2 separate regions of the Homo sapiens genome follow, and region 1 is linked to region 2. The links are contacts of gene promoters, found by promoter capture Hi-C in blood cells and fetal thymus (Javierre and others, 2016). All regions are on one chromosome and are shown on one strand. The core of a region is centred on a gene start or on the middle of the fragment in contact, and the rest is flanking DNA. Distances in the headings are between cores, read along the strand shown. Region 1 overlaps USP22 (ubiquitin specific peptidase 22). Region 2 holds the start of SPECC1 (sperm antigen with calponin homology and coiled-coil domains 1).

The links. Contacts are between HindIII fragments. The CHiCAGO score rates a contact against its expected background, and 5 or more counts as called.
Region 1: a contact is called between a fragment that was not itself captured here and the fragment with the promoter of SPECC1 in region 2, in 1 of 17 cell types (erythroblasts). The highest score is 5.1, in erythroblasts.

What each region holds. Positions count from the first base shown.
Region 1 is chr17:21,038,519-21,041,850 of GRCh38, forward strand. All of the region lies in intron 1 of USP22 (ubiquitin specific peptidase 22), which reads right to left. Among named protein-coding and RNA genes, the nearest start is that of USP22, 2.8 kb to the right of the region's middle. The HindIII fragment of the contact is 633 bases long and covers 1,074-1,706 here.
Region 2 is chr17:20,007,729-20,010,935 of GRCh38, forward strand. It overlaps SPECC1 (sperm antigen with calponin homology and coiled-coil domains 1), which reads left to right and starts at 1,631. Exons shown (of 15, transcript NM_001243439.2): 1 at 1,631-1,696. SPECC1-DT (SPECC1 divergent transcript) reads right to left here and starts at 1,532. Exons shown (of 1, transcript NR_186461.1): 1 at 327-1,532. RefSeq lists an enhancer at 433-1,000 and silencers at 1,433-2,102, 2,123-2,302. The HindIII fragment of the contact is 26,343 bases long and covers 1-3,207 here.

The sequences.
Region 1 (3,332 bases), core at 140-2,639, 1.0 Mb after region 2:
TTAGCCAGGTGCGGTGGCGCATGCCTGTAGTCCCAGCTACTTGGGAGGCTGAGGCAGGAGGATCACTGGACCCCAGGAACTCGAGGCTGCAGTGAGCCATGATCATACCACTGCACTCCAGCCTGAGTGAGAGACAGACCCTGTCTCAAAAAAAAAAAAAATACATAAAAAATAAAAAATTTAAAAAAGTGTTTTGAGGACACAGTGCCATAAAATTTTAGATTCAAAGAGAGAAATGGTTTTAAAAACATTACCTGTTCTCCAAAGTGTCTATATTCAAAATATAATGTAGAATGTTAAATCATAATCACTTCCTGCCAGTTCCTATCTTTACAGACAAACCCTGAAATGGTAAGAAATTTGTTATATTTAACACACACCAAAAACACAAAGGAGACGCCACTGTGGTCGTGCCAGTCCTAAATCATGGAAATAGTTTTTTTCTTTTTTTTTGAGACGGTCTCGCTCTGTCGCCCAGGCTGGAGTGCAGTGGTGCGATCTCGGCTCACTGCAACCTCCGCCTCCCTGGTTCAAGCGATTCTCCTGCCCCAGCCTCACGAGTAGCTGGGATTACAGGCGCGTGCCACCATGCCCAGCTAATTTTGTGTATTTTTAGTAAAGACATGGTTTCACCGTGTTAGCCAGGATGGTCTCGATCTCCTGACCTCGTGATCCGCCCGCCTCGGCCTCCCAACGTGCTGGGATTACAGGCGTGAGCCACCATGCCCGGCAGAAATATTTTTATAGTCTGCAATACAAGAGTTTTATGGCAATTCGGGCCAGGCGCGGTGGCTCATGCCTGTAATCCCAGCACTTTGGGAGGCCAAGATGGGCGGATCACCTGAGGTTGGGAGTTCGAGACCAGTCTGACCAACATGAAGAAACCCCATCTCTACGAAAAATACAAAATTAGCCAGGCATGGTGGCGCATGCCTGTAATCCCAGCTACTTGGGAGAATCACTTAAACCCTGGAGGGGGAGGCTGTGGTGAGCCGAGATCACGCCATTGCCCTCCAGCCTGGGCAAAAAGAGTGAAAACCCCATCTCAAAAAACAGAGTTTTACTGCAATTCAAGCTTCTTTTGGACAGAAATTTATCAAGCCTGGTCATGTTTTTGTCATGTTCTGCCTGTTAAAAGAAGAATCAAAGTTTGGGTACAAAATGCATAATCCATCTGTCCTTAGATAACAAAACTCGTAATTCCTATTCATTCAGGGATTCATTTCTTTAAACTGTACCTGAGATGTCCATCTCAAAAAGTACCTTTGTTTGTTTACAAAGATTATAATTCAAGTTGAAGTTTGTTTTGAGATAGGTTTTGTTGTCCAGGCTGGAGTACAGTGGCACAATCATCAGCTTAAAGTACTTTTACAGTCAAGTTCATATCATTAAAACCAAAAATATGGCTGGGCTCAGTGGCTCTGGCCTGTAATCCCAGCACTCTGGGAGACAGGAGGATGGCTTGAGTCCAGGAGTTCAAGACCAGCCTGTGCAATATAGTGAGACACTGTCTCTACAAATATTAGCCGGTCGTGGTGACACACGCCCGTAGTCCCAGCTACTCAGGAGAGGCTGGAGTCCAGGAATCTGAGGCTGCAGTGATCACTGACCAGACCATTGCACTCCATCCTGGGTAACAGAGCAAGACTCTGTCTCTACAAAAAATAATTTTTAATAAAATAAAATTTAAAAAACAAAATGTCCTAAGCTTACAGATCTGATGGAAATCCTATGCAGATTGTCCAACTGTTAATCATCAGGTTTGTTAAACTATTTCCCAAACCAACTCTTCCTTAACTGGGCCACTAGAGAGTGCTAGAAATGCAGGACACCGCACATGAAGTGATACAGGTAAATAAGTCCCCCCAGTCAGAGGAAAAAGCATGGAGGGCTTAAGGGCTCCTTGCTGGCACACTGCCAACTGGCACTGCAGCAGCCCCCACCTAAATTTTGAAAGAAATATTTTTCACTACCCGACTACAGTTCAACTTCTAATTGGTGAATAACATACATGTGGCTCAACAGTTTTGAAACTAAGCAACTGACATCTGAAATTAAAAGATTAATCAGAGCCATAAGTAGCGCAAAAAAAAAAAGTAATTCTTAACTTTAGGAAATTAGGCAAAGTTAGTTAATGATGGTTTAAACTTGACTCCTTCTATTTGGTTAAAAAATACCAGAGGGGGGAAGAAAGGGAGAGGGAGGGAGGGAACGGAAAAAGAAAAGGAGGGAGAGGAAGAGTGGGGCGGTCCCCACTTCATCCAAAGTAGTAACAAATCTTGGGCGCGTCACGTCCCAATCCGGACACTACTGACCCAGAGTAGCAACAGCACATTCCCTGTAGAAGACTGGCTTCAACCAGGCCACCCTTTTTTTTTTTTTTCCGGAGGGGGTCTTGCTCTGTCACCCAGTCTGGAGTACAGTGGCGCGATCACTGCTCACTGCAACCTCCGCCTCCCGGGTTGAAGTGATTCTCCTGCCTCAACCTCTGGAGTAGCTGGGATTACAGGCGCCCGCCATCACACCCGGCTACTTTTCGTATTTTTAGTAGAGATGAGGTTTCACCATGTTGGCCAGGCTGGTCTCGAACTCCTGACCTCGTGATCTGCCCCCCTCGGCCTCCCCACGTGCTGGGATTACAGGCGTCAGCCACCGCGCCAAGCCAGGCCATCTTTTCTTAAAGACACACAATTCTACTAGCAAGACTCTAACTCCGATCCTGAAACGTTTTATGTCTGATTTTAGTTCATCCAGACATAACGCTACCTGATACCATTACAGATAAAAAAAATTTTGAGGCCGGGCACGGTGGCTCATGCCTGTAATCCCAACACTTTGGGAGGCAGAGGCGGGTGGATCACCTGAGATCAGGAGTTCCAGACCAGCCTGGCCAACATGGTGAAACCCCGTCTCTACTAAAAATACAAAAATTAGCCGGGCGTGGTAGCAGGAGCCTGTAATCCCAGCTACTCAGGAGGCTGAGGCAGGAGAATCGGCTGAACCCGGGAGGCGGAGATTGTAGTGAGCCGAAATCGCGCCACTGCACTCCAGCCTGGGGTACAAAGCGAGACTTCGTCTCAAAAAAATAATTTTTTTTTTGAATTACTGCTTAACATACCCTACAATCTCAGCGAGCCTGTTGGTATTCCCATAAATAAAAAAATGCCACTCAAGGTGGAAACTGCCCTCACAACTCCCAATCTCGGATTGTAATCTACAAAAGCGCGTGAAACTGTAAAAATAAACTTTATTCACATAGAAGAATCACGTTACGTTTTGATTTCCAAACCCTTACCAAGCCTAACTGCGGGACGCAAGACTGGGCTCCCCGA
Region 2 (3,207 bases), core at 381-2,880:
ATAATTTTAATGCTCCTTAAATTGTTCAGAGTAAAAGGAAAAAGCAAACATGCCCATTTTTTTTTCTTTTTTTTTTTTTGTAGAGATGGGGGGGTCTCACTGTGTTTCCTAGACTGGTCTCGAACTTCTGGCCTCAAGCACTCCTCCTGCCTCGGTTCCAAATTTTTTATGATGTGAGCATAACATTGATTCTGAAACCAAACAACATTAGACATTCAAAAAGAAAATTATTGCCCATCTCATTTTTGCATATCAATGCAAAGCCTGTAAATAAAATATTAGCAAACAGAATCAAGCAGTATATTTAAAAAAAAAAGACAAGTTTATTGCAGGGATAAACTGGGTTTTTATTAGGAATTTATTATAACTAGGACTCATTACTTCAATATGAGGAAATCAGCTGTCACCCGGTTTGCTCGTCCTTACAGACATCTCCCTCCTCTTCCTCTCTTCCTTTCCAGTGAAAATGTCTTCAAGTTTCCTCTACCAAACCAAAACTTCACCCCACTTCTTTTATTCTTTCCTCCTCTCTTCTCAGAACAAAGGGGTTGTTGCTGACCAGCCCAGGGTTTCTTATTTGGGGCCGGATCATTCTTCCTTGTGGGGCAGTCCTGTCCTTCAGGTAGGATGTTGAGGAGCACCCTCGTGTCTACCCACTTAGGCAACAGTAGCAACTCCCGCATCATGACAACCAAAAATGTCTCCAGACCTCCCCAAATGTACGCGGGGCGGCGAGGAGGGGCAACACCGGCCCTGGTCGAGAACCGCTAGCCTAGGCTCGCCCCTCTACCTGGGCGCCACAACTTGCCAGGGTTGGTTATTCTCCCTGGATCCTTTCCTTCCTCCTCATTTGAGCTTCACGCCCTCAAGTATGACCAAAGGTTCTGTCATTCCACTCCTGCAGTTTTCATTAAGGTCTTAGGCCACTTCCATGTCAAGAAACACAGTGGCTCTTTCTAACCCCTGGCCATGAGGCACCCCTGGAGGAGGAGCCGTGAGGGTAGGGAAGATGCTGAGGGGGATGTTGACCTTGCCGACTTCCAGGCGCCTCCGCTGCATCCCGGAGGAGGCGTTGGGCGGTGAGGGTGCAGCGGGGGGGCGGGCCCCGCAGGATGAGGTGTCCGTGTGCGGCTAGCGCCACAGGCAAGACCGGGCTCCTTGCGGGGCGGAGGTGAGGCCGTGAGCATAGCTCTCAAACTGGAGGGCGCCTCAGAATCACTTGACGGGCTTGCGAGAATGTGGACTGCTGGGCCCCACCTTCATGGTTTTAGTGCAGGAAAAACCGAATAGGCTGGGTGGGACGGAGAATCTGCATTTTCTCAAGTTCCCAGATGAGGCTGAAGCTGCTGGTCCGGGCACCACCCTTAGAAAACCTCCAGTGTAGAGTGCGGAAATGGGGTCCACATCTGGCTTGGGACGCCCAAACATCGATTATGTGCGACCAGAGGATGAGCAGATAGGGAGATGAGACACTGAGAGCTGGGAGAGAGGGGGCCCCCGGCCGCCGGCTGAAGGAGGACGGCGCAGGCGGCGGTCCGGGTACTACATCTCCCAGCGAGCCCCGCGCGGCTCGCGCTCGCCCCCTGGCGGCGATGGCTGGAGGCGCCGGCGGAGCGCGGGTCCCTCTCCTGAGCATCAGTGAGCGCCCGGAGCCGTGGCCGCTGGGGGTTGCGGCGGCGCTGAGCCAGCGGGGCCGGTGAGTACTAGCCGCGCCGCCAGCCCGCCCGCCGGCCGGCTCTTTGCGCCTCAGCCGCGTGGTCTGAAGGGATGGGCGGGCGAGCGCGGGGGTCCGGCAGTCCGTCGTGGGGGCACGGGACTGCCTTTCTGGGAAGGCGTGCTGCGTCTTCGCCGCGGGGGCCCCGGTCCCCTCGTCGCGTGTCCTGTCCCCAGCCCAGGAGGGACGTCCTGGCCTGTCCTGCCCGGCCCGGAGCGGTGGGACCGGTGCCGCAGGTGGCAGCGGCAGGTGGCCGCCTCCTCCCCTCCGGGCCCGAGGGTTGTCGCAGGGACCCGGGACTGAGAGCCAGGTGGCTCCCGACAGCTGCGGCCCTGGAGGCGACCCCAGCCCTCGCCGCAGTGGGACAGGTGCGCGGGCACGCCCGGCCCCGGCTCCTGGGTCTCGGGAGCCTCCCGCACCCTCCCTGTTGTGCCTTGGGGGTGCTGCGTGGTGCAGAGGACCGAGAAGCCCTTCGCCCTCGGCGTCCGCCGCGCTCCCGCCCCTTCCTGGCCGGGGTGACAGGGGAAGGGCTAGGGCTGCGCATCCCGGGTCAGCTGGGGCGCCGCGGCGCAGTGCACCTGGAAGGCCCGGGGGCAGCGCGCGGTGCCCGTGGGTTTCCCGGTGGTGCGGACCTGCGGGCGTGCGGAAGTAACGACCTCCTTCCCCAGTGCCCATGCAAGGAAATTAGTGTTATGTGCTTGCTTTTTTTTTTTTTTTTTCCTAAGGAAGTTTGACTCTGAATATCTTATTTTGCTGGAGCTCCATTTGCCAGCACGTAAGTTTATGTAATAAGCGGCATACAGTTCGGAAAAAAATTTTCCTGTGAAAGTGCTCTTCCTTGCCCTCTGCAGGAAGAATTACGCCGAGCTGGTTGGCAGGCTTATCCACCAGCAACTGTAGGAGCTGCAGGCAGCAGATAAAGTGTTTTTTGAGTAAGGGCACAAGTCAGCCCTTCAGGACAATTTTTGTTTTTGGAAGATTCTGTTATCCAGTTCCAAACACCGTGTTATTTCAGTGTTGAAGATGGGGGAGGAGGGAGGAGCACAGGCTTGTCAATCCTAATACCTCAACAGAAATTAGCTTTGCAGGATTAACTCTCCAAGCAAGCGAGTTGAATTTGGTAGCCCAAACTACAGCTGAAGCTGAGCCTCCATACTAAAGCCTGTCTCAGTTTTAATAGTTTTTCGCTTGATTCGTTTGCCTCTTCCAAGTAGGTGATCTTATTGTCTGTTAAACAACAGATGTCTCTCATGTTTTTACTTTTTTCCTTGTCTTCCATAGATTACTCTCGCTGCAGTGTTGACTATTGAGGTTAAATAGGAATCTTTGTCTTGGGCTTGGTTTTAGGGAGCATTCCCTCTGTATCTTCACCGAGTGTATTCTATCACATTAAGTACATTTCTGTTTATGCCTAATTACTAAGAGTTTAAAAAGTCAAGGGTGGGTGTTGGGTTTTTTGCCCAAATGCTTTTGTGTAGCATGCATTGATATGA